Regions from separate parts of the Homo sapiens genome. Here region 1 is linked to region 2. Evidence: promoter capture Hi-C in human tissues and cell types (Jung and others, 2019). All regions are on one chromosome and are shown on one strand. The core of a region is centred on a gene start or on the middle of the fragment in contact, and the rest is flanking DNA. Distances in the headings are between cores, read along the strand shown.

Evidence for each region. Contacts are between HindIII fragments. The study calls those that stand out against the background at their distance.
Region 1: a contact is called between a fragment that was not itself captured here and the fragment with the promoter of SERINC2 in region 2, in 1 of the 25 tissues and cell types used here (IMR-90 fibroblasts).

What each region holds. Positions count from the first base shown.
Region 1 is chr1:31,606,985-31,612,596 of GRCh38, reverse strand. No RefSeq gene overlaps it. Among named protein-coding and RNA genes, the nearest start is that of HCRTR1, 7.9 kb to the left of the region's middle. The HindIII fragment of the contact is 7,167 bases long and covers 1-5,612 here.
Region 2 is chr1:31,410,958-31,416,226 of GRCh38, reverse strand. It overlaps SERINC2 (serine incorporator 2), which reads right to left and starts at 3,014. Exons shown (of 10, transcript NM_178865.5): 1 at 2,923-3,014. The coding sequence starts at 2,961. RefSeq lists enhancers at 947-1,495, 2,766-3,266 and silencers at 2,990-3,049, 3,130-3,199. The HindIII fragment of the contact is 9,558 bases long and covers 724-5,269 here.

The DNA.
Region 1 (5,612 bases), core at 1,408-3,907, 200 kb before region 2:
GGCAGTTTTGTCCTGCAACTTAAGCAGATTTGAAATTAATAACACATTTTCCTTGTAAAATATTCAAACCATTCAGAATAAATGAAAAGCATTATTTTTATTTCTGTGGATTACTATTGACTCCTTATTTGAATATAGTGACTGTAACAAAGAGCCCCACCAAATGACAGTGGCTTTGAAAGTTGAAAGTGTTTTTCTTGGCTGGGCGAGGTGTCTCACACCTGTAATCCCAGCACTCTGGGAGGCCAAGGCGGGTGGATCACTTGAAGTCAGGAGTTTGAGACCAGCCTGGTGTCAACATGGTGAAACTAAAAGTACAAAAATAAAAAAATTCTACTAAAGTTTTCCACTAAAAAAATTTCTACTAAAAATACAAAAATTAGCTGGGCGTGGTGGTTTGTGCCTGTAAGCCCAGCTACTCGGGAGGCTGAAGCAGGAGAATCGCTTGAACCCAGGGAACGGAGGTGCAGTGAGCCGAGATCATGCCACTGCACTCCAGCTGGGCGACAGAATGAGACTTGGTCTCAAAAAAAAAAAAAAAAAAGGTGTATTTCTCTCTCCAGGGCTGGTCAGGCAACTCCAATGTCATCAGAAAGCCAGAATTCTGCCAGGATAGAAGAGTATCATGGTTACATGAACAGATTCTAGGACCATATTGTATGGGTTTAAACCATGGATCTGCCACTTACCAGCTGTGTGATCCTGGGCATGCTATTTAGCTTCTCTATTTTGAGTTTCATTGTCTGTAAAAGGGGATGATATAGTACCCATCTGTGGTAGGGAGAATAATAGATGTCTGAGTCCTAATCTCTAGAATCTTTGAATGTTACCTTACGTGGCAAAAAGGACTTTGCAGAAGTGATTAAACTAAACATTTTGAGTTGGGGGTATTATCCTGGATTATTTGGGTGGGCTCCATGAAATCCAATGATCCTTATAAGAGGGAGGCAAGAGGTCAGAGTAGTGATAGGAGATGTGAGGATGGAAGCAAGTGGTCGTGGTGATAAGAGGAAAGGCCCACAAGCCAAGGAGTGCAGGTGACCTGTAGAAGCTGAAGAAGGCAAGGAAATGGATTTTCCTGAGTCTCCAGAAGGAAAGAAACACTGATTTTAGATGTCTGACCTCCAGAACTGTAGAAGAATAACTTTGTGTTGCTTGAAGCCACTAAGTTTGTGGTTAATTTGTTACAGCAGCAATAGGAAGTGACTACATATCCCCATTGGGTTAAATGAGTTAATACATGCAAAACACTTTGAAAGGTGCCTGATGGATACTTAGCATGTATATAACTGTTAGCTACTATTATAATATTTATGGCAAAACTCTTGGCCTAGGCTGGGTGGAGTGGCTGACACCTGTAATCCCAGCACTTTGGGAGGCCAAGGTGAGTGGATCACTTGAGGTCAGGAGTTCGAGACCAGCCTGCCCAACGTTGTGAAAGCCTGTCTCTATTAAAAATACAAAGATTAGCCAGGTGTGGTGGTACACACCTGTAAGACCAGCTATTCAGGAGGCTGAGGTATGAGAATCACTTGAACCTGGGAAGCAGAGGTTGCAGTGAGCCGAGATCATGCCACTGCACTCAAGCCTGGGTGACACAGCAAGACTCTGTCACAAAAATTAAAAAACTCTCAACTTACGTCAGAGATGGCTGGTCACGTCCATAATTCAACTAAGTGGAAAGGCACATCACTTCTGCTAACATCAAGTTGACCTAAATTTGGTCACCTGATCACATGTAGCTGCAATGGAGGCTGGGAAATATAATTTTTGTCTGGGTAGCCATGTCAGGTGGTGTCCAGCTGAGATGTAAGAGTTCTGTGACTAAAGATAGAGGAAGGGGTGGTTATTGAAGAACTAACAGCATCGGAAACAATTCCTACTATGAAAGACGAGTTTATGGCCGGGTGTGGTGGCTTACACCTGTAATGCCCATACCTGTAATCCCAGCACTTTGGGAGGCCAAGGCTGGCAGATCACTTGAGCCTAGAAGTTCAAGACCAGGCTGGGCAACATGGGAAAACGTCATCTCTACAAAAAATACAAAAAATTAGCTGGGCTTGGTGGCAGGTGCCTGTAGTCCCAGCTACTTGGGAGGCTGAAGTGGGAGGATCATCTGAGCCCAGGAGATTGAGGCTGCAGTGAGCTGTGATTGCACCACTGCACTCCAGCCTGGGCATCAAAGCAAGACCCTGTCAAAAAAAAAAAAAAAAAAAAAAAAAGGAAAGGAAAAAGAAAAAGAAAGAAAAGAGATGAACTTAGCAAAGGTAACTTCCCTCCAGAGTTTGGTTAGATACAAATATTTCCAGCTGTTTTTTCTTGTGCCATTAATTTCATGCACTATCTGTTAACTCCCCACTGTGTAAGACGAGACATCACTCTTGCTTTCTCTCCTAATTCCTTTTGCTAAACTGCTACATTTGCATCTAGTTCTATATCCATAATTAAAATGTTCTAGTTTTGTGTATTGTCTATCTCTGAATTTCAAATATTGAAAATCAATAAAGTGTTCTTAAACAATATTATGATTATATAAACATTATTCTCTACAGAGCCAAATAGAATCCTGGGACACATAGAGAAGGAACTATAATCTCACAGTTTAAATACTGCTCAAAGAGAAATGATCCAGGCTTCAAGCTCAAGTCTATTCTCCTCCACTCCCTCAGCTATTCAGAGTCATAAGACATTTTAATTCACTTCATATTTGGACCATGACTTTCTTACACAATTTCTTGTTCTCATGAAGTTTCTAATTGCTTTCCTCTTTTCTCCTTGAGAGAAGAAACATATGCCTTTTAAGTCAAGTCATTAAAATCTTCCAGCTTCTTAATTACATTATTTGTTGAATGAAGCCCATTTTCTTCCTAAAGACGTTCTTCTCCAAACCCTCTGACTTCCTGTTCTAATTTTGATGGATGGCTTTATGGACCTCTGGTATTTCTATTCACTGTGCTACTGGGTTAATTCCACTGTTTTGTGAATCTGTTATGTCTCTCTTTCTTGAATTATGTCCCTTTATCTCAAGTATATTTTCAAATAACATTTTTAAAAGGGGTGCATGGAAGGAAAGCTTTCTGAATCTTGGCATGTCTGAAAATGTCTTTAGGTTGTCCTTTCACTGACTGAGTTGGTGAGCATGAACCAGCAGGCTTAGGGTATGTGGCAGAGGGCAGATACACAAACAGACACTCCAGCCTCCACCCTGGGCCACATAAGGAGGGATTTACTCTAGACATCAACACTCCCTGTAGGCACTCTAGTCCTTAGGAAAAATATCACTCACTTTTTTTTTTCTTTTTTTTTTTGAGACGGAGTCTCATTCTGTCGCCCAGACTGGAGTGTAGTGGTACGATCTTAGCTCACTGCAACCTCCGCCTCCCAGGTTCAAGCAATTCTCCTGCCTCAGCCTCCTGAGTAGCTGCGACTACAGGCACGTGCCACCATGCCCGGCTAATTTTTATGTTTTTAGTAGAGATGGGGTTTCGCCATGTTGGCCAGGCTGGTCTTGAGCTCCTGACCTCAGGTGATCTGCCTGCCTCAGCCTCCCAAAGTGCTGGGATTACAGGTGTGAACCACTGTGACTGTCCAAGATGACTTAATTTTTTTAGAAAGCTGTTCCCTCTCTTTAAAAATCTCTCCCCTCCCTGTATGTTCCAGATGTCTGCATTTGTTAGGGGGTGGGGTGTTGATGGCAAATACTGGCTTGTTACTCACTAGGCTTTTACTTGAGTATTTTCTAAACTTTTGTTATTCTTATACCACATCTCAATTTTTGTGGCATCTTCTTGCTACTTTATTGTTATGTACTTATGTATGGTATGATGGTTAATATTAGGTGTCAACTTGATTGGATAAAGGGATGCCTAGATGGCTGGTGTTGTTTCTGGGTGTGTTTGTGAGGGTGTGGGCAGAGGAGATTGACATTTGAATTGGTGGACTGAGAGAGGAAGACCCACCCTCAATGTGGGTGGATGCCATCCTGTCGGCCGCCAGCAGCTGGAACAAGGCAGGTGGAATGAAGATGGGATAACTTTGTTTGCTGATGTTGAGCAACTTTTCATATGCCTGTTTGCCATTTGTATGTCTTCTTTTGAGAAATGTCTGTTCAGGTCTTTTGCCCATTTTAATCAGATTATTAGATTTATAGAGTTGCTTAAGCTCCTTATATATTCCTTTTTTTTTTTTTTTTTTTTTTTGTAGAGATGGAGTATTGCTGTGTCGCCCAGGCTGAGTGCAGTGGCTGATCTCAGCTCTCTGCAACCTCTGCCTCCTGGGTTCCAGCAATTCTCCTGCCTCAGCCACCCGAGTGGCTGGGACTACAGGCGCACGCTGCCATGCTCGGCTAATTTCTTTTGTATTTTAGTAGAGGTGGGGTTTCACCGTGTTGCCCAAGCTGGTCTTGAACTCCTGAGCTCAGGCAATCCTCTCGCCTTGGCCTCCTAAAGTGCTAGGATTACAGGCGTGAGCCACCGCGCCAGGCCGAGCTCCTTATATATTCTTGTCATTAATCCCTTGTTGGATGGATAGTTTGCAGGTATTTTCTCCTGTTCTGTGGGTTGTATCTTCACTTTGTTGATTGTTTCCTTTGCTGTGCAGAATTGTTTTAACTTGATGTATTCCTATTTGCCCATTTTTGCTTTGGTTGCCAGTGCTTGTGGGATATAATTCAAGAAATATTTTCCTATGTCTAATGTCCTGGGGAATTTTCTTGCAGCAGTTTCATGGTTTGAGGTCTTAAAGTTTTTAACTCATTTGATTGGATTTTTGTATATGGTGAGAGATAGGGGTCTAGTTTCATTCTTCGGTATATGGATATCCAGTTTTCAAGGGGGTCTCCTTTAAATAGTCCTTTTTCTCCTCACCCAGATTCTGACATGCTGGGAAAGAAAGCAAAATACGGGTTATGGAAGAACAATAGCCCTTTTATTGTTGATGATATAAAGTGGGGGCCTTAGTGGAGGACAAGAGCTAGAGTCTTCCCAGCTGAACCCCGTCACAGCCTCACTACCTACTAACAAGCATGACTTGATCCCACGCCCCATGTCATGGGCTCACAGCCTCGGTCATGCCTCTCCTGACCACTCTTGGAGTCCTGGTATGTCTGGCCTCATTGACAGAGTGGACTGAGTTTTTGCAGGAGCTGAAGAGACTACTGGAAGAGAGAATTTTTCTTACGGACCAAGGAGCAGGAAGCTGAGAGCTTGGCCCAGAAAACCTTGGTTATCAGAAGGGTGCAGTGGCTCACACCTGTAACCCCAGGACTTTGGGAGGCTGAGATGAGGGGATCACCTGAGGTCAGAAATTTGAGACCAGCCTGACCAACATGGTGAAACCCCATGTCCACTAAAAATACAACATTAGCTGGAGGTGGTGGTGGCGTGCATCTGTAATCCCAGCTACTAGGGAGGCTGAGGCAGGAGAATTGCTTGAACCCAGGAGATGGAGGTTACAGTGAGCTGAGATCATGCCATTGCATTCCAGCCTGGGTGACAGAGCAAGCTTCTGTCTTAAAAAAAAAAAAAGGAATAAATGGTATAAACCACTGGAGAGGAAGAAATAAAATGGTCATCTATATTTATAGATCATGTGATCGTCTACATAGAAAATCT
Region 2 (5,269 bases), core at 1,765-4,264:
GCTTGGTGCTAAATATGCAGCTGTGCTAACCTCAGTCCCATTTAATCCTCACAACAGGCTAAGGGGCAGACACCATTGTTTTCTCCACTTTACAGACAAGGGGATGGGCAAAGTGACTGCCCACAGTCACAGAGATGCGAAGAGGCAAAGCTAGGATCCGAGTCCAGTGGTCTGACCCAAAGGCCTTTCACACTCCCTAGGATGTGCAAGACCCTCCTGAAATCTTTGCAGACAGCCAAGTCATCATGTGCCGGCGGCTTGCCTGGTGGCCCCATCCCCTGTGGACCCATCTTACCTCCCCATCCAAAGCAGGACCCACCTTCAGCCCAGTTCACCTTCAGCCCAGTTCCAATGCTGAGAAGCACAATCAGCAGATGAGTCACACCTGGGAGGATACAAAAATCTTCCCCACTGACCCATGCATGCAAAAAAATCCCTCCTGAAGTTGCCCAGAAACCCCACATAGAACTTCACTCCTGTGCAGCAACTCTTCACTGCAACAGGATGGTACTGGTGTCCAGTAGTGCCCAACTACACCACTTAATGTTGTGTGGCTGTGGAGAAGTCACCTTCACTCTCTGAGCCAGTTTCCTCATCTGTGAAATGGGAACAATATTAACTGCCCCAGTGGGGTCTTTGTGAGGATTAAATGGAAGGAGATATATATATACACACACATACACATACTGCTCACTACTGTATGGGGCCTAGGCCACTCCTGGACAGCTCCACGCTGCGAGTGTTGGGATAGTTATCTGTAAAATGGGCTAACGATGTCATAGGGTAGAGGAGGTGGGGAGAGCCAATGAGATGGCATGGTGAGGGGCTCGGAACAGTACCTGGCTCAGTAAATGTCAGAGGCCAGAACCTCAGTAAATGTCGGAGGCCAGAACCCCAAGGGGATGGCACTGAAGGGAGGGCCGGGTCCCTTGCTGATATTACTCACTAAGTTATCTCCCAATTCTTCCCTGGACCAGCCCTGTGCCTCAGGCAGCCAGGATGTGGGGAAGGGAGGGAAGGTGTGGGCAGAAGCCTGGACCAGGAATCAGATGTTGATCCTAACTATGCAGTTCTTCATCCTTTCCCTGTGCAACCTTAGGAAAGTCAGCTATCTTCTCCGGGCGGGTGGCAGTCTTCTCATCTGTAAACAGATGGTTTGAGCAGTCCTATCTGCTCTCAGCATTGTAGAATGCTGTAACTCAGAGACCAGCACTTGGCTTTGCATTGTCTCCAAATGGAATTCTCCACCCACCTTTCCTTGATGTTAGCAATAATTCCCACAAGGAGCACTCACGATATGCCAGGAACTGTGCCTCATCTCCCAACAGCATTGTGAGAAAGGCCCTGTTACTGTCAACTGCCAGATGGGGTGACCAAGGCACACAGGGCTGGCAGGCTGCCCCTCAACATCTCCACCCCCAGGCCAGCCCAGCAGGGCCTGTGCCTCACCAGGTGCAACCGATGGAAATCAGGTCCACTGTGGAAGCTCTGCCTCCCTCACCAGGAAGCAAACCCTTGTTGGCAGAGACCTGGCCCAAACCTTGAATTCTTTGGGCTGGGAGGGATTTCAGGCACCAGCTTGATTCCTCCTCCTGCACACGCACATGCACACGCACACACACACACGAAAAATGGAGGCCTAATGAGGCGAGAGGCTCTCTTGCCTCTCTGTGCTGTCTATGCTGATCTCATTCTCAGAAAAAGGCTGTAAAGTAAATCTCTAGACCCTCAGCTCTCCCCTACACCCCCTCCTCTCTCTCTCTCTCTCTCTCACACACACACACACACACACACACACACACACAACCCGTCAGGGACAAAGGAAAGCGAGTCCCGAGATTCAGCAGCCGCTGCAGCCCCTTCTCCCTCTCAGGGCCTCTTTGTGTGGGGCCAGAGGGGGAGGGGGCTGCCTGAATGAACCTCAGATTTAATGAGGGGAAGAGGAAAGGAGAGGGGGGCTGGGGAAAGGGAAGGGAGAACGGGCCTCCCAGCCGGGGTCTTGCTGGAGCCCCTCCCCTCTGCGGCTGCAGCTACAGAACAGAGGTTGGCCTCCCCACAGGTCCCGAACCCGCGACCGGGCACTCCCCGCGCACACCCGAACCTCCCTCGATTCCTGCTCTCCCAACCCAGAGTTCCGCCCGGTGGTCCGTGACGACCCGCACCCGCCTCACTCGAGGGCAGCTAAGAAAGTCCGGGGCTCCCTCCGCTCCCATCCCAGTCTCCGCGCTGGGGCCCAGATGATCCGGGGCGAGCTGGGGAAGTGCCTGAGAGGCAGCGCGAGCCAGACTGAGGACGGTAAAGGGACCGCAGAGAGACTGAGGGACGGACGGGCGGACGGGCAGACGGACAGAAGACAGCAGACGGACAAAGACAGTCGGACGAACGACGGACACAGACAGGAACCAGACAAATACGAACGGACAGGCGGAGCCCGAGCGACAGGAACAGGCGGACTGGCAGGCGGCCAGAGGGGTAGGGCAGGGCACTCGCCAGGAGGGACGGGGCCCGGGCGACCTACACAGAGAACCAGGGCGTCCGGGACGGGGACAGAGGCCACCCCGAGGACCGCCCCAAGTGGGGCGACGAGGGCCCACAGAGCTGCCCCGACCCCGGGCTCCAGGCTTAGTCTCTCCAGGTCCCAGGAGGGCGCCCGCCGAGGGCACTCCCCTCCTGCCCGCGGAAACCCGAGCCGGGACCGCAGCTGCCCGGCGCCTGCCGGCCAGGACTGAGCAGGGGGACGGGGGCAGCGGGATCCGGGTGCCGAGTGAAGGTCCAGGAGGGCGAGCAGGCGGGGCACCGGCCCAGAAAGACAAGTTTGCAGGAAGGAAAAAGAAGAAACTACTCGGAGCAGAACAGAAGAAAGTGAGGGCCCGCAGCAGGAACGGGCGGCGCGCGCGGGCGGGCGCCGGGGTCGGGACTCACGCAGCTGAGCAGGGAGCAGGCTCCCAGGCAGGCCCCCATGGCGGCGGCTCCCGGCTTCGGGCGCCCGGCGCCGGGCGCGGGGCGCGGACCTCGGGATCCGGGTGCCGGGCCTGGCCCCTCCCCGGCCCCGGCCCCGCCCCGGCCCCGCCCCACCTACCGAAGCCGCTCGACGCTTTCCGGCGGCGCTCGGGGCCTCCCCAGACTCACCTGGGGCAGGTGCGCCAGGAGGGACCCTAGGGAAGGGGCCGGTCGGGGATTCCCGCGGCCACGCGAGCGGCGCAACCTGACCCAATCGTGGCCCGGGCTCGCATCCTGCTCCAAAGTGAGCGTTCGGAAATCGACCTCGGTTTGAGCCCGTGTGACCCCAGGACACTGTCACCCTTGGGAACAGAAGCCAAGAGGTGGTCACCGCTGACTCCTCAGTGCTTGGCGCAGGGCCTCTGCTCAATACGTAGATGCTGAGGTTGAATGCTGAATGACTGGATAAAGAAACTTCGGCAAGTCACTGCACCTCTATGAGCCTCAGTTTCCCGGTCTGTAAAGTGAGGATACATACCTCACAGGGTGGTTACAACACATGGTAGGTGCTTGACAAATGTAAGCCCCCATCGTCACTGTTTTCTTCTTCCTTTTTAAGAGACAGGGTCTTGCTCTGTCACCCAGGCTGGAGTGCAGTGGTGCAAACATAGCTCACTGCAGCCTCGACCTCCTGGGCTCAAGTGATCCTCCTGCTTCAGGCTCCTGAGTAGCTGGGACTACAGGTGCATGCCACCATGCCCACCTACTGCTTCTTCTAAGACCCCAGCCTCTCACTCTAAACCCATCCTCCCTTCTCTCCATCTGTTCTTCAAACTCCACTGACTCCCAACAGCCTGCTGGGAGCTACACACTCCCTACAGCCACCCCTGCTTGGTGGCTTATCACTCCCTAGGGATGCCCAAACTGGTCCCTAGCTAAGGAGGTCAGAAGGTGGGGAGGGGCGGCCACATTCCTGACAGATGGCTTTCCAGGGGTAGGTGTGAGAGACCCAGAAGTAGGGCTCTGTAATTAGTCTCCCTTCACCCTTAGCCCTGTCCTCAGCCACCTCTGGACAAGATAATGTTAGGGAAAGAAGTCTCTGTGCCTCGAAGCTGGCCCCAGGGCCAAAGAGCTGGTTGACTGCATCCTTGGCTGATTCACTGGGCGCCAGGCTTAGCCATTAATTGCACCAGGACTGTTCCACAAACACACCCTATACTTTTCCTCCTCCGCACTTTTGCCCACACAATGCCCTCCTCTTTTTTTTTTTTTTTTTTTTTTTTTTTGAGACAGGGTCTCACTCTGTCACCCAGGCTGGAACACAGTGGCCCAATCATGGCTCACTGCAGCTTCAACCTCCTGGACCCAAGTGATCCTCCCACCTCAGCCTCCCAAGTAGCTGTGACCACCAGTGTGTACTACCACACCCAGCTAATTTTTTAAAAATTTTGTGTAGAGATGAGGTCTCCTTATGTTGTCCAGGCTAGTCTCGAACTCCTGGGCTTAAGCAATCCTCCTGCCTTGGCCTCCCAAAGTGCTGGTATTACAGATGTGAGGCACTGCACCTGGCAGATGCCCTCCTCTTAAAGGTCCTTCTCCTTATCCCTCTTTCTCCCCTTTGAAGCTTGCTCACATGCCATACCTCTCAGTGAAGAGAGCCACCACCCTCACCCCCAACCCACTACCTGGTTCCATTAGGAATGAACATCCTCCTGATTCCCCCAAGCCTCCAAACAATATGGGCCTCCCTTATGGCCTCACAAACAACCCGAGCACATGCCCAACTTTCCCCCGTGGTACCATTTGAGCCCCACAACAGCCCTGAGAAGTCGATTAATTCCCCACCCACTCGTTTACAGATGAGGAAACCGAGAAACAAAGAAGTAGTGACACGCGAAATGTAAATCAAGCGTCGAATAAACGTTGACTGTGATCACTGTGGTTGTTGTTACTATTGCTGAAGGCCACACAGCTCAGAAGAAACAGAGCTGAAAGGCAACCTGGCCTGGCTTTCACCCTGATGTCCTACTGCTTCCCTTGAAAAAGTAGAGGTGACAATATCTAGTCTTCCTATTTTTCTGTCCAGCAATATTTCAGTCCTTCCCTAACCCGAGGCCTTTAGGGGACTGTGAGCCACCCAAGAACGGTCTGCTCTCTGGCCACCCCCTCTCCTACCCAGAGCACAGTACAGGGCCTGGCACACAGTCAAGCAGTGAATGCTTACTGGATGAATGTCTGACCTTTTACCATAAGTCCACTTTCCTCCTTCTTCTGTGACTGACAGTCTGATCCAAAAACATACCCTACACAGTCATCTTCTGCACGGAAA